7 separate regions of the Homo sapiens genome follow, and all the other regions are linked to region 2. Evidence: promoter capture Hi-C in 16 types of primary human blood cells and fetal thymus (Javierre and others, 2016). All regions are on one chromosome and are shown on one strand. The core of a region is centred on a gene start or on the middle of the fragment in contact, and the rest is flanking DNA. Distances in the headings are between cores, read along the strand shown. Region 1 overlaps DUSP5-DT (DUSP5 divergent transcript). Region 2 holds the start of SMNDC1 (survival motor neuron domain containing 1). Region 3 overlaps ADD3 (adducin 3). Region 4 has its middle 45 kb from the start of MXI1. Region 5 overlaps ADD3 (adducin 3). Region 6 has its middle 66 kb from the start of MXI1. Region 7 overlaps ADD3 (adducin 3).

Evidence for each region. The method cuts DNA at HindIII sites, captures the fragments that hold promoters and counts their contacts. A CHiCAGO score of 5 or more calls a contact.
Region 1: a fragment that was not itself captured here is called in contact with the fragment with the promoter of SMNDC1 in region 2 in 3 of 17 cell types (activated CD4 T cells, total B cells and naive B cells); the score reaches 7.0 in activated CD4 T cells.
Region 3: a fragment that was not itself captured here is called in contact with the fragment with the promoter of SMNDC1 in region 2 in 2 of 17 cell types (neutrophils and monocytes); the score reaches 8.3 in neutrophils.
Region 4: a fragment that was not itself captured here is called in contact with the fragment with the promoter of SMNDC1 in region 2 in 4 of 17 cell types (neutrophils, monocytes, activated CD4 T cells and 1 more); the score reaches 12.1 in neutrophils.
Region 5: a contact is called between a fragment that was not itself captured here and the fragment with the promoter of SMNDC1 in region 2, in 14 of 17 cell types (neutrophils, M2 macrophages, total CD8 T cells and 11 more). The highest score is 18.6, in neutrophils.
Region 6: a fragment that was not itself captured here is called in contact with the fragment with the promoter of SMNDC1 in region 2 in 16 of 17 cell types (neutrophils, naive CD4 T cells, total CD8 T cells and 13 more); the score reaches 23.0 in neutrophils.
Region 7: a contact is called between a fragment that was not itself captured here and the fragment with the promoter of SMNDC1 in region 2, in 1 of 17 cell types (neutrophils). The highest score is 5.0, in neutrophils.

The regions. Positions count from the first base shown.
Region 1 is chr10:110,474,655-110,477,694 of GRCh38, reverse strand. DUSP5-DT (DUSP5 divergent transcript) reads left to right here. Exons shown (of 2, transcript NR_187547.1): 2 at 2,469-3,040. Among named protein-coding and RNA genes, the nearest start is that of DUSP5-DT, 20 kb to the left of the region's middle. The HindIII fragment of the contact is 7,252 bases long and covers 1-3,040 here.
Region 2 is chr10:110,303,339-110,306,311 of GRCh38, reverse strand. SMNDC1 (survival motor neuron domain containing 1) reads left to right here and starts at 1,392. Exons shown (of 6, transcript NM_005871.4): 1 at 1,392-1,564; 2 at 2,725-2,844. The coding sequence starts at 2,725. RefSeq lists a silencer at 1,561-1,880. The HindIII fragment of the contact is 6,895 bases long and covers 1-2,973 here.
Region 3 is chr10:110,057,340-110,060,545 of GRCh38, reverse strand. The region is part of intron 1 of ADD3 (adducin 3); the gene reads right to left. Among named protein-coding and RNA genes, the nearest start is that of ADD3-AS1, 51 kb to the right of the region's middle. RefSeq lists enhancers at 361-470, 521-580. The HindIII fragment of the contact is 2,463 bases long and covers 381-2,843 here.
Region 4 is chr10:110,160,694-110,163,625 of GRCh38, reverse strand. No RefSeq gene overlaps it. Among named protein-coding and RNA genes, the nearest start is that of MXI1, 45 kb to the left of the region's middle. The HindIII fragment of the contact is 3,194 bases long and covers 1-2,932 here.
Region 5 is chr10:110,118,837-110,121,833 of GRCh38, reverse strand. It overlaps ADD3 (adducin 3), which reads right to left. Exons shown (of 15, transcript NM_016824.5): 7 at 2,480-2,623; 8 at 2,270-2,368. Among named protein-coding and RNA genes, the nearest start is that of MXI1, 87 kb to the left of the region's middle. The HindIII fragment of the contact is 2,697 bases long and covers 159-2,855 here.
Region 6 is chr10:110,140,223-110,143,498 of GRCh38, reverse strand. No RefSeq gene overlaps it. Among named protein-coding and RNA genes, the nearest start is that of MXI1, 66 kb to the left of the region's middle. The HindIII fragment of the contact is 5,462 bases long and covers 1-3,276 here.
Region 7 is chr10:110,090,584-110,093,927 of GRCh38, reverse strand. The region is part of intron 1 of ADD3 (adducin 3); the gene reads right to left. Among named protein-coding and RNA genes, the nearest start is that of ADD3-AS1, 84 kb to the right of the region's middle. The HindIII fragment of the contact is 5,983 bases long and covers 1-3,344 here.

The sequences.
Region 1 (3,040 bases), core at 379-2,878, 170 kb before region 2:
TCTCAGACTTCTGTGAATATAAATCAAGGACCATAATTTTTTTTCTCTAAATTGCATTCATTGGTATTTAATTTATTGAGCATCTAATGTGTGCCAGGCACTGGCTCAGGTACTAGGAATTCTGTGGTAAACAAGGTAAATGAGTTCCCTGCTCTCTAGGGCTTCCTTCTAGTGGGGAAGACAGGTAACATACAAACTCTTAGCAAAGCCAGCTTGACTGTGGTGGCTGGGGAAGATGGAGAACAAATAGAACTGGAGGCCAGAGGGGCCTCTCTGAGAAGGTGTCATCTGAACTGACAACGGATTAATCAAAATGAGCCAGCTGTGTCTGAATCAGGGAAAGGGCATTCCAGTCCTGAGACAGGACCACTGTGGCCTGTCTGAGGATTCACAGATGCAGCTATGGCTGGAACTTAGTGGACAAGAGAGAGAGGTCAGAGATGAGCTGGGAGATGTTGGCAAGGCCAGATTATGCAGGGCCTTCCTCATAGACCATGGTGAAGAGATTAGAGTTGGTTCTAACCGAGGTGGGAAATCAGTGGAGGGTTTTATGCAGGGTGATGATGAAAGATCCCCAGCTGCTTGGAGAATGGACTGTAGGGAGGACAGAGTGGAGGCAGAGACCAGTTAGGAAATTACTGCCATGGTCATGGTGACAGGTGATGGGGTCTTGGACAAAGATAATAGAAGAGGAAGCTGAGAGATGTAGACAGACAAGACCTTCAGATGTAGTGGATGTGGCAGGGGTGGGGCATGAGGGAAAGAGGAATCACGAAGGATGCCCTGGTTTGGATTAGGTAGATGGGGGTGTCATTGTCTGAGATGGGGAAGGTAGAGGAAGAACAGGTTTGGGTGGTGAGATTGAGCATTCTGGTGTGCTCCTGGGCCAAATAATGTCCTCGAAAGATGGCACGTGTGAATATATGACCTCACATGGCAAATCTGATTAAGTCAAGAATTTTGAGTTGGGAGATTATCCTGGAGGACCCAATGTAAACACAAGGGGCCTTATAAATGTAAAAGGGAGGCAGGAGAGTCAGCGTGCTTCGATGTGAGAAGGAATCAACCTGCCATTGCTTTGAACTGGCTTTGAAGGTGAAGGAAGGGAACCCCGAGGTGAGGAATTAAGACATCCTCTAGGAACTGGGAAAGGTAAGGAAATGGTTTCTCCCATCGAGACTCTAGAAGGGACACAATCTTGCTGACACCTTGCTTTTAGCCCAGAGAAAACCCAATTAGGACTTCTTACCTCCAGAACTGTGAAATCATGCATTTGTGTGGTTGGTTTTAAGCCACTAAGTTTGTCGTCATTTGTTACGGAAGCAATAGGAAATGGACACATTGGCCTTACGGACGTCCAGGTGGAAAGACAGGTGGGCAGCAGGCAGGCTGTACTGGCCAGAGCCCAGGGTAGAGGCTGGCACTGGAATCCTGAGAGCATTCAGCCTACAGTTGGAACTTAAATCTGAGAGGCTTCGAATCACCTCAGGGCCCAGAGTGAGCTGCAGGGCCCGTGATTAATTCCTGTCCTCTCTGCCGGATACAGGCAAACTTTGGCAGCTGGCTTTTCTCTCCTAAGTAGAGAATCTTTAGCTTGGCCTAAGGGTCTTGGGTGGGGCCTGAGCTGGATGGGCCTGCCCTGAGTGAAAGTCCAAAGACCCTGTCACTCTGAGGGACACTCCCATCAGGCTGTCTCAGATGCCTCCAGGCTAGGTGGGGAGGAAAATGGGAGAGTGACGGAAATGTTTATTATGTTTATTTAGCTCCTACTAAGTCACAAGCACCAAATTAGAGACTTTTTATCTGTGGTTTTAAACCTTACAATAACCCTGGCAGGGAGCTGTAAGCCCCATTTGTGAATAGGTAAACTGAGGCTCAGAGGGATCAGATTACTTCTTTAAGATAACACCAGCAGGACGGCCAGCATAGTGGCTCATGCCTCTAATCCCAGCACTTTGGGAGGCCAAGGCAGGCAGATTGCCTGAGCTCACGAGTTCAAGACCAGCGTGGGCAACATGGCAAAACCCCGTCTTTACAAAAAATACAAAAATTGCTGGGCATGGTGGTGTGAGCTTGTAGTTCCAGCTACTCGAGAGGCTGAGGTGGGAGGATGGCTTGAGCCCGGGAGCTGGAGGTTGCAGTGAGCTGAGACTACACCACTGCACTAGAGCCTGGGCAATAGAGCCAGACCTTGTCTCAAATAAAAAACAAAAAATAAAAAATAAAAATAACGCCAGCAGGGAACTGAAGATCCAGGAATCCACCAAGTTTGAATGAGCTTTAGATGTCCCCAGGGTGCTGCTCTTTCTGCCATGCCCCTCTTCTTGGCTGAGGACTATTTGAGAGTGTTTTTTACCAAAATAGCAACAATGCCTTCCATTCATTGACCTGTCCCCCTTTCCCTTAGTTATGCATTTAATCTTCACACCAACCTCATTGTTAGTTTTTTTTTTTTTTTCATTTTACAGATGCAGATGCTGTGGCTCAAAGGATTAATTAATTTGCTTAAGATAATGCAACATGAGAAAAGCAGATCAGGACGGAATTCCAGAACAAGGATTTTGCTTGAAATAACATCACTACTAATTGTCTCTCTGCACCTCCTGGCTCATTTCTCTACTCCCACACCTTCCCTGCTGACCCTAGTCAAGGAGCTGTGAACATACAAATAGTGCCTGATACACTAGGGCCTCGGCATTGGCCATGGGAGTGAGGGAGAAAATCATTTAAGAGGCTTTGTAGTCGATTTCAACAAAGAAGGCAATGCCAGTGAAGCATCTTGCAGGAATCCCTCCCTGACTGCTTCAGTCCACAGCGCTCTTACCTTTCTCTATACACTTACAATCTGTTTCATTTACTTCCTAGCAGACCTTGCAGAAACCATTATTTCATATGATACGTTTCCCCCATAGAATATAAGCTCCTTAAGGGAAGAGATTTTTGCTTGGTTTTATAATGCTGAATTCCAAGTGCCTAGAAAGGGCCTGGCAGGTCGTAGGCACAAGAAGTATTGGTTGGTTGAATATATACTTCTTGCAAC
Region 2 (2,973 bases), core at 143-2,642:
CAGGTTATCTGACTCACTGCAAGGGTTATGTGTGTGTGTGTAGAGAACAAAAGGGAAGGCTCCTTGAAAAGAAAACTAGGAACTAAAGATGTTGGCACAGTTCAAAAGAGCCCATCTGAGAAGTGGGCCTTTTTTTTTTTTTTTGAGACGGAGTTTCACTCTTGCTGCCCAGGCTGGAGTGCAATGGCACGATCTCGGCTCACCGCAACCGCCGCCTCCAGGTTCAAGCGATTCTCCTGCCTCAGCCACCCGAGCAGCTGGGATTACAGGAATGCACCAACATGCTCGGCTTTTTGTTGTTGTTGTTGTTGTTGGTTTTTTTTTTTTGTATTTTTAGTAGAGACGGGGTTTCTCCACGTGGTCGAGCTGGTCTCGAACTCCTGACCTCAGGTGATCCGCGAGAAGTGGGCCTTTTTATGGATCCAGCAACAAACTCCCAACCTCCCAGGAAAGGTTGCTTCCTGTCATCTATATAAAACTTTGTGTCTCAGGCCTTTATTGCTTTTTTAATTGAAATAAATTATATATATATGGTTTAAAAAAAAAAGAAAAGGAAAAAGGGTAAACAGCAAAGAGGGTAATCAATAAAACATTTGGCTTCCACTCCAAACCTCTGAACAGTTTTGTGTATCCGTCCAGAAAGCGTATATATTATTACAAACATACACAAGGGGCATTTCTTTTTGAACACAAATGTGAGTATTCCTACCACTCTTTACCATTCTAGACTAACTTGGACGTTGTTCCCTATCAGGCGAGATTAACCCAACTAAATTAAAACCAAGTAGGTTTTAACAAAACAGATTTTAAAGAAATCAATCTTCTCTCCAATAGGTTATTTCTGTCACGATTTAATTAGCTTTCTGTTACTACTAAGGCTTGTATCATATAAAGTAGTGGTTCTCAGGCTGGGCGCGGTGGCTCACGCCTGTAATCCTAGCATTTTGGGATGCCGATGCAGGAGGATAGCTTGAGCCCAGGAGCTGGAGACCAGCCAGGGCAACGTAAAGAGAGCCCCCACCAACACCCCCCGCCACCCACCACCACCGCCCCGGAAAAGCAGTGGTTCTCAAACGTCAGCGGACATTGGTATCATCTGGTGAGCTTATTAAAACAAGAGTCTCTGGATTCAGGAGGTCTGGGGTGGGGCTTGAGAATTTGCATTTCCAATAAATTCCAAGCCGGAACTCCAGGAAGATAACCTGCATTCCGCGCCTGGCGAAGCCCAGCTACGCCATTTCCTTCCTAGGCCCCGCCTACTTCGTGTCCCTGACAGCCAGGGACTGGCTAGAGGGCGCGCGGAGTCACGTGAGTCGAGCGACCTCGCGCGAGAGTTTGTATTTCTCGCGAGACTTCACCGTCTCTGTCTTTTCCTCCTTCCAGTGCCCGGCGTTCCTCCCTTCCCCCTCGCCGCCGACCGAGTTCTTCCTTTTCAGACCGGGTCGCCTTGCTGTCGTCGCGGTGATTTTCCTGCTACTGCTACTGCTGCTGCTGCCACCGCCACTACCACTGGGCTCATTTGCCCCGACCCCTTCCCGCCGCCCCGCCCCCAGCCCCACACAAGGTAACAACCCCCCTGAGGGAGAGAGTAAGGCCTGGCCGGGCCCGGGTCCCTCCCGAGGTGAAGCGGAGGCCCAAGGCTGAGGAGCCCGCCTCGCCGGAGACGCCCAGGCGCTGGCCCTGGATCCCGGAGCCACGGCCGTCTCTCAGCCAGAGCTGAGCCTCGGCGGCCCGGCCGGCGCTGGCCTCCGTGCGGCGGCGGCAAACACGGCCCGCAGGGGACCGGGTCGGGTGGGGCTGGGCGCCGCGCGGCTCCCTGTGGAGCCTGCCTGTTGGAGCGCGGCGGGGCTCCGGCGGTGGTCTTGGAGCTGGCGTGTGGATTTCCACGTCCGAATGATCGAGTTGTGGCGGGCTTTGAGGTGCTGCGTGGCGGGGAGGAGAGCAGCCTGGGTCGCTGTAACTCTTAGGGGGCCTTTGCAGGCTCCCAGCCTTTGGTTGGACGGGAATTTTACGAAGGAGAAGGGTCCTCGGAAACGTGGTACATTTGCTTATAAACCATCAAAAAAGGTTAATTGGTATCTTATTTTCAGGAAAATGACTGAGCTGGATTTGGCGAAAGGCACATTCGTTAGAATGCCTAAATGGGAGAGTACCTGTGCTGTTCTTTTTGCTGAAGATAATGCACCGATAAATATTTAAGCGACTGGGCGAAAGATTTTTGTTTTGGAGAGGCACTTTTAAATACACTCTTAATTGAATAGTTCAAGTAAAGATCGTAGTTTGTGTAGTTAATTTAAAAACGCACTTGTTTGGCTTTGGAAGCATACTGTAGTGCTTAAAAATAAGTATTTGGATTGTTTTTGAAAGTTTCGACTTTTCCAACAGAGTAGTGCTTTTTAAAAAGATAACACTGATTATTGAGCCGAATTCAGCACCTACCCTGTGGATAGGAGTTAAAAGAAAATTAGAAATTTCTTTGTATCTGTATGCTTTTTTAAAGTATGGAATGTATCTCAAGTTTATAATCCTCAGAATCTGTTGCCTTTAAGTTTGTGGTTTAGCTGAAGTCTAAACTGAGAGTAAAGGTAATGGTGGTAAATTAAGCTGCAGTGTTAGAAGGAGTTAGAGGCAAAAACTGGTAATTCAGGCAGACAGGGGAGTTAGTTTTTTATGCCTTGATTTTTGGTTTAGTTTTCATGGTCTAACCCTTTTTATTTTCCCTAGATGTCAGAGGATTTAGCAAAGCAGCTGGCAAGCTACAAAGCTCAGCTCCAGCAAGTTGAAGCTGCATTATCTGGAAATGGAGAAAATGAAGATTTGCTAAAATTGAAGAAAGATTTACAAGTAAGTATGGGTAGACAATTGTACTTTTTCTCTGTTTTTCAAATTATTGCTTGAATCCCTAAGTACCCAAAGCGCCTTTTGAGGGGTTACACCCCACCCTATGTATATATGTAAATTCTGTAGGTACCA
Region 3 (3,206 bases), core at 363-2,862, 250 kb after region 2:
GAACACAGAGCAAGCATTTGATTCTTTATAAAGAAATTATCTGATTTGCAAAGAAATAAGACAACTGCTTCAATTATAGCACTAGGCTAAAATATCCAAGTGCTTTTGGGACTTTCTTGTAAAATTTTATTCAGAGGGGGGGTTTTCCTTGTCATTTAGTTTTTGCAGCACACACACTCCATATTTAATCCACTATCTGCCTACAACCTAGTACTTAGCTATTATTCACATTCTCATGTGGGCATATACCCAACTTCTTACTCCATCAAACACTGGAATAAACGTTAATATATTAGGAAATTAGAAAAACGAAATGAACAGGAGGGAAAGCAAGTACATTTTCACACAAAGTACAGGATACAGCTGTGATCTGTCAAGCTTACAAGACTGTCTCCTTAGCTAACAGCAAAGCTACAGGACTATCTTCTCAGCTGAACAGGAAGTCGCAGTCTAAAAAACATAAATGTTCCCAAGCCTCAACTCTATTCCCTTCACTTCACATTTCTAGCATGCATTAACCCTTTGACCAAGCCTGTGTAATACACCCATTCAAGTAGCCTTGACGAGGTGTCAGCAAGTCTATGGATGACAAGTACTTTGAGAGTCCACAGAATAACCTTTCATCATGATGTCCCTAAATAAAAAGCCATGTGGGACTAATGTGTTTGGTTGTACTCTTCAGAATAAACAGGTTGTAGCAAGAAAGACAAAACCAACTTTGGCCTTTGAGAAATTCATACTTGTATGAATGATCTTTATTTATTTTTTATTTTTTTTGAGACAGAGTCTCGCTCTGTCACCCAGGCTGGAATGCAGTGGCACCATCTTGGCTCACTGCAACCTCCGCCTCCTGGGTTCAAGCGATCCTTCTGCCTCAGCCTCCCGAGTAGCTGGGACTACAGGCGCAAGCCACCACGCCCGGCTAATTTTTGTATTTTTGGTAGAGATGGGGTGTCTCTATATGGTGATAGTGGCCAGGCTGTTCTCGAACTCCTGACCTCGTGATCTGCCTGCCTTGGCTTCCCCAAGTGCTGGGATTACAGACACCTGCACCCGGCCTATTTATTTATGAGACAGAGTCTTGCTCACTTTGTCACCCAGGCTGGAGTGCAGCAGCGCGCACTCAGCTCACTGCAACCTCTGCCTCCCGGGTTCAAGCAATTCTCCTGCGTCAGCCTCCTGAGTAGCTGGGATTACAGGCATGCGCCACCACGCCCAGCTAATTTTTGTATTTTTAGTTTAGACAGGACTTCACCATTTTGGCCAGGCAGGCCTCAAACTCCTGACTTCAAGTGATTCAACTGCCTCAGCCTCCTAAAGTGCTGGGATTACAGGCATGAGCCACTGTACCCGGCCTGTATGGGTGATCTTTAGTTTTCCATTTCTGAAAGTGTTTCCATGGTACCAACATATAATTTAAAAAAATAGAATTTCCTTTATCTTTCATAGGATCCTGTGTCAGCTAACAGACAAGGCACCTAACCCAGGCCCAAGGTAATGGAGGTGAAAAGAGAGCACTTCACAATGGATCTAATGTAATTTTTAAGTGATTTATAAATTAAATGTCACTTATAAACTATAATTTTAAAAGATGAGAGTCAAGGAAAGAAGGAAGACAGTGTTGTAGGCACTGGGAAAACTTTTGCAACCAATGATAATTTAACAGTAATATGACAGATCCTTCCTACAGTTCCACTTTAGAATGGATTTGTGATACTGAAAAGAATCATGAGCTAGATACTTAGATGCTGATTAGAGGTGCCCAGGTACATCAGCAGATCATATTCCAAATGATAGTTCAACATACATAAAAGGCTCAATACAAAGGAAATAGTGATATCCTCAAATGGTGTGTTTAGAAAAGAGAGGAGGTGGTGAGCATTTTTTCCCCAAGAAAATGCTATAGAATTATTTTCAAATTAATACTCCTTTCAATGTCTTGATTTCCCAGCTTACCCTTTACATCAGAGGAGAGCACAGCACTGTTGCCACAGTCCTCACAAAGTACTATCACCGTGGGTATGATACACAAAGAATGGAGCTAACTCTCAAACAGGAAGTCACCATCTCGTCAATCAGATGGTACACATTAGAAATGAAAAGATCAGCAATATGTAGAAAGCAATAAAGAACATGTAGAATCGAGAGAAGGAATTCTGAGATCTTGCCCTTTTTCACAGGCGGCTCCACAGTTTATCAACAGCTGGGAAATTTCCTGTTCACAGGAAAAGGATGACTTCTTAGTTCACGTTAAAGTGGAAATGACAAAAACTGACTGCATCACACAGAAAAAAAGGTGTTTCCTGAAAAAAGGAGAGACAGAGTGCTGCCTTTATTTGCAAAAGAAATCTCCCTCCTCAAAAAATACACCACAAAAACCCAAAGTACAAAGGAAAAGCAAAATAGCATGCATATGGCAAGCCAAAAAAAAAAAAAATCTTCAGGAGATAAAGGAGAAAATAACTAAATCAAAGAAATATTTCATGGTAAGAGTTAGCTTCAGTGGGAAAATCATTTTGTCCCTGTGGGTTATTTTAAATGCAAATATGCATAAGGGAAATGATAGCATATTTCCACTTGATATTCATGCAAAGATTTTTATCTATAATTTTTGAAAATGATTATCTAGCATCAGCTTTTCTACATACATACACAAAAGAATCCATACTTCATCACTAACTTATCATTAGCTCCTATGGATTATTTCAAAGAATCACTGCTTGGTTTATTCTTTAAATTACAGTGATTCTTAAAAAGTATATTCTTTCATTGCAACAAAAAATATTTGTTGGGTGCCTACTGTTTACCATTTTACATGCTGGGGTCTCAGTGGAGAACAAGCTTCCTGCCTTCCTGGAGTTTTGCCTAGTTTTGTTTTATTGACTAGAGCAGTGGTTTTCAAACTTTACTGCAAATTAGAATCAGATGAAGAGCTTTAAAAAAATCCCAGTACCCAGACTGCACCGACACCATTTAAATCAAAATCTCAGCAGTGAGACCTAGACATCAATAATTTTGAAGCACCAAGTGACTCCAAAGAACAATAATGTTTGAGTACCAGTAGATCTAAAGCATTAGTTCCTGGCTAGGAGTGGTAGCTTAGCCCATAATCCCAGCACTTTGGGAAACCCAGGCAGGAGGACTGATTGAGGCCATGAGTTTGAAAGCATTAGTTCTCAACTTGGGTCTTTGAAAAAACACCTCTT
Region 4 (2,932 bases), core at 160-2,659, 140 kb after region 2:
TGCAGTCATTATCTCTACCATTGTGCCTTTGAATGGTGTTTTGTGTTTACCCTACTTTCACCTAATAAGCACTTCTCAAACTGTGCTCCATGGGTTGCCTTTATTCCAGGAGAGTTTAATAGGTGTTTTGCTCCAAAGTGCTTCTGCGGTCAAACAAGTTTGGGAAAGGATACACGGGATAGCCACATCTGACATGTCCCAGTGCTTTTAGCATATTTAAGGCTCCGAGAAGGTCTGCAGTGAAGGTACCTGGTTAACTCTGTTAATCCTGCCTTTCCCAGACTTTTCTTTTTTTTTTTTTTTGACCAGAGAGTCAGTTTGGGGAGTAAGCCACTTACTTCCTCATGGGAAGTTTGGTGTTCCCCAGAAACCAGTCAGAGCCTGATTGCTTCACATTCTCCTTTGCGAATCCTCACCCACCGGTGTCCCTGTGAGGTTAGGAAGAGGGATGCTCTGTGGGAGGACTGTTGGAACAGACAGTTCACTTACCTGTCTGATCTCCCACATCAACTTGGGGCCAGAGTTGGCCAGAGCCGGGCCAGAGCCAGGCTTCCTCCCTCACCATCACATGGGGGAGCCCTTGGGCAGTGCCATTGATCCTAAGGGGCCACTTTCCTGATGGCACGAGGAAACGCCTCCCCACTGAGCTGCATGCAAGAACAGCAGAAGGGTGTGGGCACCAACAGCTGCCCTCTGCATCACCTCCAGGGTGCCGAGTATCCCAGGAGTTCAAAGCTCAGCCTGAAGAATCTTTAGTTCCTCAACCTCCCTGGGGGCAAGAAAGGAATGGGAACTGATCATCCCCACACTTCCGCTTCTGAACAGAGGTAAAGTAACTCACACAGTAATTCTGCAGGAAAAATAGCCACCCGTGACTTCCAGTTCCTGTTGTAGCTCAGGTCAAACTTGGCTGAAGAACATGTATTCAAGTTTGTGAAACAACTCTGCTGGTTTCTTTTATTAATTTTTTTTGAATATGCATTTATTTCTCTGGATACAAAAGAGACATGGGGATGTACGATAAACATTTCTCTCCTATCCCTTGCCAAATCACCCAGTTTCTCCCTGGAGTCAACCAAATGTACTAGTATCTAGTATCTATGCAAACACTCCTTTTCCCTACACACACACACACACACACACACACACACACACACATGAGCGCACACGATAAACAAATTAACATACTTTGAACACTGTCTGCACCTTATTTTTATTTATTTATTTATTTTTTTGAGACAGGGTCTCGTTCTGTCGCCCAGGCTGGAGTGCAGTGGTGCAATCTCCGCTCACTGCAACCTCCGCCTCCCGGGTTTGGAGATTTTCCTGCCTCAGCCTCCTGAGCAGCTGGACTACAGGCGCGCACCACCACACCCAGCTAATTTTTGTATTTTTAAGTAGAGACGGGGTTTCACCATATTGGCCAGGCAGGTCTTGAACTCCTGACCTCATGATCCACCCATCTCAGCCTCCCAAAATGCTGGGATGACAGGTGTGAGCCACTGAGCCTGGCCTCTGCACCTTATTTTTTAACTTAATGATGGATCTTAGAGATCATTCCTTATTAGTACACACAGAGCTTTCTCATTCTTTTTTACTGCTATATAAATTATGGTCCTTTATGGATGCAGCATAATTAGGCCCCCACTGATGAACACAGATTACCTCCAGAGTTTTTTGTTATGAACAGTGCTGCGGCAGATAACCACGTACTTAAGTCGTGGTGCACATGTGTGCGTGTGTATGTAGGGTAAAGTTCTAGAAGTGGAATTGCCGGGTCAAAGCACAGGCACTTCTTTAGGTGGTGCTGAGTACTGCCTGGTGCCCCTGCTCTGGCGGCTGGGATCCCAGGAAGAGGAGACGAGGGTTTTTCCTTTCTCGTTGGATGTTTAATCCAAGGCAGCTTCACACATTGACACCGGACACAGGAAACACGAAGTGTAGTCCTGACCTGTCTTTGCATGTCAATCTCCATTTGCACCAGCACCATTTGTTGAAAAGACTCTTATTTTCACCATTGAATGGTCCTGGCATCCTGGTTGATAACTGATTGACAGTTGGGCATGGTGGTTCACGCCTATAAATCCCAGCACTTTGGGAGGCCGAGGTGGGAGGATCGCTTGAGCCCGGGAGATTGAGACCAGCCTGGACAACATAGTGAGACACTGTTTTTAAGGGAAAAAAAAAAAAGAAAATCAATTGACCACAACTGTGAGAGTTATTTCTGGTCCCTCATTTCTATTCCATTGATCTCTATGTCTATATCTTTAGACAAGTACCACACTGTCTTAATTACTGTAGCTTTGTAGTACGTTTTAAAATTGAGAAGTATGAATCTTCTATTTTTCTATTCAAAATTGTTTTGGCTATTCTGGGTTCCTTGCGCTTTCACATGCATTTTACAAGCATTCCACATTCATTTGATCAGCTTATCAACTTCTACAAAGAAGTCAGTTGGAATTTTGATAGGATTGCATTGAATCTGTTATATCAATTTTGGGAATATTGCCATCTTAGCAATATTAAGCCTTCCAATTCACAACTATGTGTTGTTGTTCCATTTATTTAGGTCTTCTTCAATTTCCTTCAACAATATTTTACAGTTTTGAATGTACACATCTTGTACTTCTGTTAAATTTATGCTTAGGTACTTTATTCCTTTTGATACTACTAGATGTGAAATAGTTTTCTAAATTCTATTTTTGAAACTTTAATTGCTAGCATATGGATATAGAATTAATTTTTATATGCAGATCTTATATTTTGAAATATTACTGAACTTGTTTATTAGCTCTAATAGCCTGGTGCTTGGGGGTAGATATCTTAGTATTTTCTATATAAAAGATTATTTGTCAACAGAGATAGTTTTACTTCTTCTTTTCCAAACTGGCCTTTTATTTCACTTTCTTGCCTAATTTCCCTGGCTAGCCCC
Region 5 (2,997 bases), core at 258-2,757, 180 kb after region 2:
CCAAATTTTAAATTTCTTTTCTTGAAGTTTTCCCAGGGTTATCCAGTTAATACTTTTGCTAAAAGCTATAATTTTAAGGAAATACAAAAACACTGTACTTTGAATTTAAAGATATTTAGGCAGAAGCCATCAGCTCATTATCTTAATTTAATTAAGCTTTTCATAGCCCCATTTGAGAAGAGGAGGAACCATTAAAGCAAAAATAAGTTGATTGTTAGGACAAGTTAATGTTGGTAGAAAAAGTTTTTTTTTAGTTGTTCTTTTCCCCCTTTCTTGTGGCCCTTCCAATAAATTAAGATTATTACCATTTGCTTCATGAGAATTTGCTTTATTTATTTATTTATTTATTGAGGACTGAGTTTCACTCTTGTTGCCCAGGCTGGAGTGCAATGGCACGATATCGGCTCACTGCAAACTTCGCCTCCCGGGTTCAAGCGATTCTCCCGCCTCAGCCTCCCAAGTAGCTGGGATTACAGGCACATGACACCACGCCCTGTTAATTTTGTATTTTTAGTACAGACGGGGTTTCTCCATGTTGGTCAGGCTGGTCTCGAACTCCTGACCTCAGGTGATCTACCCAGCTCAGCCTCCCAAAGTGCTGGGATTACAGGCATGAGCTACCGTGCCTGGCCAAATCTGCTTGATTTAAAGAGAAAATTAGGGCCTTTAGTTTAATTAGATCCCATTTGTCAATTTTGTCTTTTGTTGCCATTGCTTTTGGTGTTTTGGACATGAAGTCCTTGCCCATGCCTATGTCCTGAATGGTAATGCCTAGGTTTTCTTCTAAGGTTTTTATGGTTTTAGGTCTAACGTTTAAATCTTTAATCCATCTTGAATTGATTTTTGTATAAGGTGTAAGGAAGGGATCCAGTTTCAGCTTTCTACATATGGCTAGCCAGTTTTCCCAGCACCATTTATTAAATAGGGAATCCTTTCCCCATTGCTTGTTTTTCTCAGGTTTGTCAAAGATCAGCTAGTCGTAGGTATGTGGCGTTATTTCTGAGGGCTCCGTTCTGTTCCATTTATCTATATCTCTGTTTTGATACCAGTACCATGCTGTTTTGGTTACTGTAGCCTTGTAGTATAGTTTGAAGTCAGGTAGTGTGATGCCTCCAGCTTTGTTCTTTTGGCTTAGGATTGACTTGGCGATGCGGGCTCTCTAGTTCAACCATTGTGGAAGTCAGTGTGGCGATTCCTCAGGGATCTTGAACTAGAAATACCATTTGACCCAGCCATTCCATTACTGGGTATATACCCAAAGGACTATAAATCATGCTGCTATAAAGACACATGCACACGTATGTTTATTGCGGCATTATTCACAATAGCAAAGACTTGGAACCAACCAAATGTCCAACAATGATAGACTGGATTAAGAAAATGTGGCACATATACACCATAGAATACTATGCAGCCATAAAAAATGATGAGTTCATGTCCTTTGTAGGGACATGGATGAAATTGGAAATCATCATTCTCAGTAAACTATCACAAGAACAAAAAACCAAACACCGCATATTCTCACTCATAGGTGGGAATTGAACAATGAGATCACATGGACACAGGAAGGGGAATATCACACTCTGGGGACTGTGGTGGGGTGGGGGGAGGGGGGAGGGATAGCATTGGGAGATATACCTAATGCTAGATGACGAGTTGGTGGGTGCAGCGCACCAGCATGGCACATGTATACATATGTAACTAACCTGCACAATGTGCACATGTACCCTAAAACTTAAAGTATAATTAAAAAAAAAAGAAAAAGAAAAAGAAAATTAGGGCCTTTAAATACATTCAACATCTCTGATGAAAAAAATGATTAATAAATATCCAACCTCTCATCATAATGAGGCTGTGGAATTGTTGAAAACTGCAATTTCATATAACTTCTGGACCTAGTCAAACTTTTTACAAAAGTGACCACAACACATTTGATTCTTGATTTGCAGCTGTTTTTCTTCCTTAATTAGTACCACCACTACAGGGTGAAAACAGAAATATGCAATTGTACTAACTTAAAAAGCAGGATTGTAGGGAAAATGATGTTTATGAGGCCCTTAGATTGTGTGTGAGAAAATTTTAATTTCCTTTACTCCTATTTTCAATTCAAGAGATAACTGAGTTGAAAACCCTGCCTACATAAGTAGAGCAGAACTTCTCTTAAAAGACAAAAAGCCACTAACTAATATGTATTTGCAAATAAGTACACAAAATCCAACTAAACGAGCAAATAACAAAGCAATTAAAAAAGGGGAATAATGTTTCCTACCTGAATCTCACAGGCTAGTTGCACATTAAAAATATAATGAAAAGCCTCCTCTAATGTTTCTCCAAGTGCAACCACACCATGATTCCTGAGTACCAGCACCTAAAATAGAATGCCCACAGCAATCACTTGAAATAACTGGCATAGCTCACACTGTTTTCATCAACAGCAGCAGCAACAAAAATAGCTCCTTAGACAAACTCTACTACATACCTTACAACTTGGTCCCAGAACCTTCTGCAGTTGAATTCTCTCCTCCTGTTCTTCAAGTGACCCTTGGTAGTCATAATAGGCAACATCTCCCAGAAGAAGAGACTCTTGAGAAATTGGAAGGATCCCACATTTCATGGAGGATACCTATTTGGTTTGGCCCATACCAAGATAACACATTTGGTTACTAAATACATTTTCATAGGAACCTGATTGTTTGGTCAGCTCAGGAAAACACTGGCCTATTCACTGTGTTTCACCATTGCAGCCCACTTCCCACTTTATTCACTTCCCATTTTGTTTCTTCCACACACACACAAAAAGGACTTAGGGAATACAACTCAACTTATATGCTGTGTCAAATATTATGAAAGAAGCTTTGCTCCAAAAAACTCAATGACCCAATTTTCAAACTGGTTAGTTTTAGAATCCAAATGTTATTTCTCCAGTTGTTTCCTAGAATGGTAGCATTTGGTCCCAAAGGCCTTTTGCTTTCTGGGTATGCAGATTATTGTATCAAA
Region 6 (3,276 bases), core at 484-2,983, 160 kb after region 2:
CCCAGAGCTTATGATCTTGTAGGGGAGACAGATGCATAATCAATAATGCTTACAAGACAGGCTAAGTATGATCCTGAAGTGCTACTGGAGTTTGGTAAAGGAAGAAGTCATTTTGATGAAAGGAAACATCCTCTATCAGTGTGCCCAGGTGGAGAAGGGTGCTTGGAGAGCTAAGGCGGTCACTGGGAGGGTATATGTCTTCTGCTGGGTACCCAGGTTGGGGAAGATGGGGTGGGAAAGAAGGCTGGCTTGCCAGGTGGCAGGGCTAGGTGTTCTATGGACAACTGTGGGAGTAGAGGACTGGATGACTCATGCAGCTGGCTCCTGAGTCCCCCAGATGATGACAGATTGGAGCTGCTACAGGTACGGTCCTAAGGAAGCCATTCTCTCCGGAAGCAGGTTGGAGGAGTGAACTGAGAGGTCATTATTTGGGTGGATGTGGCAAGACAAATCAGAGAGGCCTCTGACTCAGTGGCAAACGGCTATTGCCACAACCAGAGGGTTATGGAGGACGCCATGTGGAATCGAAGGTGTTTTGCCAGCATAAAATCATAGCCTCATTTTTTATAGGAGGAGGAAACACAGACCACTGTCTTCGATTCTCTTCTATTCAATTAGTGTTCTTGAGGTGCATCTTATAGTGACTCCTGGTAAGAGGGTGGCGGGGTTGGGGGCGGGGAAGGGCAGAGACATCACTGGAGCTAAATTTTTCTATAGTGAAACTGCCTCCCGATTGGAAAATTAGTTCACAGGAAACATGGGGCCATCTTCACAGCGAGTGTTTCAGTAGCACTTGGCCTTTGCTTATTCATCTTTGCTAGTCCTCAGGTAGGTTCTGGTGTGAAATATTAACTCATTCCTGCAGCCACTCTTACGTGGCTGTCTTGTTATCACACAGGGTTGCTTCCATTGTGAAAGCCATGTCAGGGCCCTTCCCTGTCTCTGCAGTGTGCCTCTCCCACAACGACTAGGGCCACTTGACCGACTTACCTGGCTGTGGTGTCCAGGACTAGTCCTAATGAGGCCAGCGGAACTGAGGTAGCTCTAGCTCCTGGCTCTGGGACTCACTGGGCACCAAGCCAAGCCTGTCCCCAGGCCAGTCCTGACCTTGTCTTGGCTCTGAGCACTGCCTGGCTTCTGGAATTCTGAGCAGTATTGTGTACCTCAGTTCTGATAACAGGATTCCCATCTGTCATTTTCCTTCTATCCGAGTTCCTGTCTTGAGGAACTGCTAACTATACCCAGGCCCCTTAAGCCTGAGGTCCTGCCATGATCTTGCCATTACCCCACAGGAAGTAGAGGAAGCGCTGCTCTTAGAGCTAAGCCTGTGGCTGGCACTCCTACACATGCTACTGGGCTTCTGCCATCCTGCTTTCTTACTCCAGAATCCTGACTGGGACTCCCACTTCCCTGATGCAGACCATTTACCAGACTACGCTTTTGGCCGATGGCTATGTTCTCGAGGCTCCATGTTTCACTGGCTGGGCTGGGCTTCCTACTAGCTCTCCAGCTCAAGCTGTTCCCCCAGTGCCTGACTTTGCTCAGTGAGTGGGTAGAATTCCTGAGCTTGCCCCACCCAGCCTGCCCTGTTCCTCTGCAGTTAATTGACCCATGCTCAGCTTGGCTTTGGCAAGTACATGTGCATATACCCTTGCTCAATATTAACTTAAAGGTCAAAATGGAGACACACGACCATACCTACATATCAAAAAATTTCATATTTTGAAAATATGTTCTAAAGTAAAACACTATTTTAAAAATAATTTAAAAACAAAACATCTCAATTACCACACAGGATATTTTAAATTAAATAATTTAAAAGGCTTAAGATACCCAAACATCCGGGTGCAGTGAGTCTTACCCCTCCCCGCGATGTGGACCAGTAGATAATATTTGGGATACAGTCTTGGTTATCCTAATAGCCTCAAATGACCTTTATTTCAGTTGAAACAATTGAAGCCAACATTTCCAAAACAGAAATCAGGTAGGAAGAAATGTTGAACTTTAACTCCTTAGTCCAGCAAACACCTTTGGAAGAGACTGCCTGTGCATGCCAACAAGCTGGCTGTATCTACATGTTCTCTCATAAAACTAGGAGCTCATCTACTCTGAAGTCAAAGTCTAGCAAGCCAGTTGCCACTGAATCCAACCTCTACAGCATTACTCAACAGGAAAGGGGTGAGTTATAGCACGCAACAACTACTTCCTCCCTAGCTCCTGCTTAGTGAAAATCTTCAGAAGCTATTGCTTTTGGAAAAAAAAAAAAAAACAATTAGTTTAGATCTTGACTGTCTATGAAAGAAAATGGTCTTCAAGGAAGGACAGAACACAGCCAGAAAACCATTGAGAAGAGTCTAGCAGAACTGTAGCTCCAGGTCCAGGCTGGGGACTGTCACTATATTTGTTTTATAAACCCAGAAAAGATAAGTCAGGAGTACCAGAGGGAAATCCAAAAGAGCCTGCCCTTTTTTTGAGATGGAGTCTCGCTCTGTTGCCAGGCTGGAGTGCAGTGGCACAGTCTCGGCTCACTGCAACCTCTGCCTCCCAGGTTCAAGCGATTCTCCTGCCTCAGCCTCCCGAGTAGCTGGGACTACAGGCGTGCACCACCATGCCCAGCTAATTTTTGTATCTTTAGTAGAGAGGGGGTTTCACCATGCTGGCCAGGATGGTCTCAATTCCCTGACTTCGTGATCCGCCCGCCTCGGCCTCCCAATGTGCTGGGATTACTTGGGCCCGGCTGAGTCTGCCTCTTAAGGCCTGCATTTTGCTGGGTGCAGTGGCTCATGCCTGTAATTCCAGCACTTTGGGAGGCCAAAGCAGGTGGATCAACTGCCAGGAGTTCCAGACCAGCCTGGCCAATACGGTGAAAACTTGTCTCTACTAAAAATACAAAAAATTAACTGGGCGTGGTGGTGGGCAACTGTAATCCCAGCTACTTGGGAGACAGGCGGGAGAATTGCTTGAACCTGGGAAGCGGAGGTTGCAGTGAGCCGAGATCATGCCACTGCACTCCAGCCTGGGCGCGACAGAGTGAGACTGTCTCAAAGAAAAAAATAATAATAAAGCCTGCATTTTATAACTGTACTACTTCCTAATTTCCATCCCTATCTGCTAGGATATGTTATATTGCTTTGGGAAATCCAAGTTTTTCTCAAAAATTTCAAGTCTAAATATCAATCTGAAGGGACACTGTTTGGTCTAAGAAGTCCAATTAACACTCTGCAATGGTCTTTCTATAGGGCTGACATATTTACCAGCTTTTTGAGTGCGAGTCTA
Region 7 (3,344 bases), core at 502-3,001, 210 kb after region 2:
CACTGTTCAAAAATAGGCGAATATAGTACAATAAGATTTTGAGATACAGGGAAAGACCACATTCACATAACTATATATTTTTCATACATACACACACACACCCACACACCATAAAGACACTTAGTATCTTTGCCATCAGTACTTAGCAAAACATATAAATAAGATGCATAAAGACAAAGAGTATTAGGAGATGGGCAGATGAAGAAGCTCAATGAGCAGGCAGATAAATGGTATAATAAAATGTCATGGAACATTCCACACAACTTTGAGTTCCAAACAAAAAGGAACTACATGCAAGGTACGGACCACTAAATTGACTCAAGTCCATCTGAAAAGGAGACTACGTTGGCTATTGATCAGTATATAGGAAGTCTTAACTCTTTACCTGACAGATGACCACTATGACTTAATTAGAAGCTATTAACAAAATGACATTGACTGTGCTCTGGGTAATAATAAATTGTATTTAAGTTTCACTTTAATATAATTTAGCATCATATTAAAAGAGTTGAGGGCTGTATTATGAAACAAAACAAACCTCAGAAAAATATCCTGTTGGGACCTAAAGAGTTAAGACAAGTATAATACACCAACTGAAATAAGTGGTAATAGAAATTGGTCTAATATAGATACTAAATAGAAATGCATGTATACATAAACATGTCTAAACTACAAAAGCAGTAATTTAATGAAACATTTTAAAGCAATCACAGAATTCCAGGTACTATGCTCTATACAGATTTTCTCATTTAATATCCTTTACAACTCTGGCCAGGTGTGGTGGCTCACGCTGGTAATACCAGCACTTTGGGAGGCCAAGGTGGGCGGATTACTTGAGGTCAGGAGTTGGAGACCAGCCTGGCAAATATGGTGAAACCCCATCTCTACTAAAAATGTAAAAATTAGCTGGGCATGGTGGCATGTGTCTGTAATCCTAGCTACTCAGAGGCTGGGGCAAGAGAATTGCTTGAACCCAGGAGGTGGAGGTTGCAATAAGCCAAGATTGCACCACTGCACTCCAGCATGGGTGACAGAGTGAGACTCTGTCTCTCCAGCCTCCAAGAAAAATCCTTCACAACTCTATGAAAAGGCGACCAGTATCCCCAACTTTATAGATAAGAAAACTGAGGGGTTTTTTTTTTCAGTTTAAAAAATAAAATTATATTTATTTAAAGTATACAACATAATGTTTCCCCACCCCTTTTATGTTAGGTTCAGGGGGTACATGTGCAGGTCTGTTACATAGGTAAATTGTACGGCATTGGGGTTTGGAGTACAAATGATTTCATAAGCCAAGTAAGTGAGCAGAGGACCTGATAGGCAGTTTTTCCGCCTTCACCCTCCTGCTACCTTCCCCACTCAAGTAGACCGGGTGTCTATTGTTCCCACCTTTGTGTCCATGTGTATTCAATGTTTAGTTACCATTATAGGTGAGAACATGCAGTATTTGGTTTTCTGTTCCTGTGTTAATTTGCTTAGGGTAATAGCCTCCAGCTGCATCCATGTTGCTGCAAAGGACATGATTTCATGTTTTTTTTATGGTTGCATAGTATTCGAAGGTATATATGTACCAAATTTTCTTCATTCAGACCACTGTTATGGACATCTAGGTGATTGATTCCATGTCTTTGCTATTGTGGATAGTGCTGCAATGAACATATTTGCGCTTGTGTCTTTTTGGTAGAATAATTTATATTCCTTTGGGTATACACCCAGTAAATGGGATTGCTGGGTTGAATGGTAGTTCTGTTTTAAATTCTGTGAGAAACCTCCTGCTTTCCACAGTGGCTGGACAGCAGTGTATAAGTGTTCCGTTTTCTCCACAACCTCGCCAACATCTGTTATTTTCTGACATTTTAATAACAGTCATCCTGACTGGTATGAGAAGGTATCTCCCTGTGGTTTTGATCTGCACTTCTCTGATGATTAGTGATGTTGAGCATTTTTCCATATGCATGTTGACTTGTGTGTATGTCTTCTGAGAAGTGGATGTTCATGTCCTTTGAGACTATTTTCTTAAGGGGTTGTTTACCTGTTGGGTTAAGTTCCTCATAAACTCTGGATATTACACCTTTGTTGGATGCATAGTTTGTAAATATTTTCTACCATTCTGCAGGTTGTCTGTTTTCTACGTTGATAGTTTCTTTTGCCGTGCAGAAGGCTCTTTAATTATGTCATACTAGTTTATTTTTGTTTTTTTGCAATTGCTTTTGGAGACTTCATCGTGAAATCCAGGTTTTCTCCTAGAGTTTATAGTTTTAGGTCTCACATGTAAGTCTTTGATCCATCTTGAGTTGAATTTTGTATATGGTGAAAGGAAAAGGTCCAGTTTCAATCTTCTGCATATGATGGCTAGTCAATTATCCCAGCACCATTTATTGAATAGGGAATCCTTTCCCCGTTGCTTGTTATTGTTGACTTTGTCAAAGATCAGATGGTTGTATGTGTGTGGCTTTATTTCTGGGTTCTCTAACCTGTTCCATTGGTCTATGTGTCTGTTTTTGAACCAGTACCAGGCTGTTTTAGTTACTGTAGTCTTGTAGTATAAAAACTGAGGTTTAATAAATTTGTCTCAGATTACCAAAGGTTCTTCTCACAAATAAGGAAATTACTCATGGTTATAGATCTTAACAGGCATGGTGGAGTTAGCCAAAAAATATGAGATGGCTCAAAGGACTATCATTTCCTAAAGATATATCCAGCCATTAGATCACTGACTTTATTTGGGGGAGGGGGGATGAAAATATTATATGATCACAATACTCAATACCAAAGTGGAAATAGTAAATATTCTAAAAGTAGCAATAAAATTTGCACAAAGTCTTCCATGGCTATCAAACCTACACATGTGGAAACCTACCTACCTCTCTGGCCTACTGCTGGAATTGTCAGATTGATCCGTATTATTCTTAAATTCCTGAACCCCGTTTTTGTTCTTTTGAAATGACTTGTTATCTTTAAAATAAAACTAAATTCTAAACCTCAATATAAAGTCCAGGAAATAATAAATCTATAGTTGTTTAGTAAAAGTTAGGACTGAGCCTTAGTTTAAAATCCAACTTAAAGTCAAGGGAAAAAACCCCCACAACAATAACAAAATAAAATAAAATAGTAACAGCAACCCACTGCGGTACTAAATGTTCTGTACTTAATGGAAGTTGATGTCTGACTAAGCAGTCATTTAAAAAAGATAAAATATGTGTCAATTGGAGGCCACAGCTAAGAGGGTGTTTCAGTTTCAAATTTTGTTTTACAAATAAAAATATAATATGAATTAATATAAACTCTTGGCAAACATGAGTCTCCTTGTGATTGTACAATTGGAACAAAGCAGTTAGATGTAG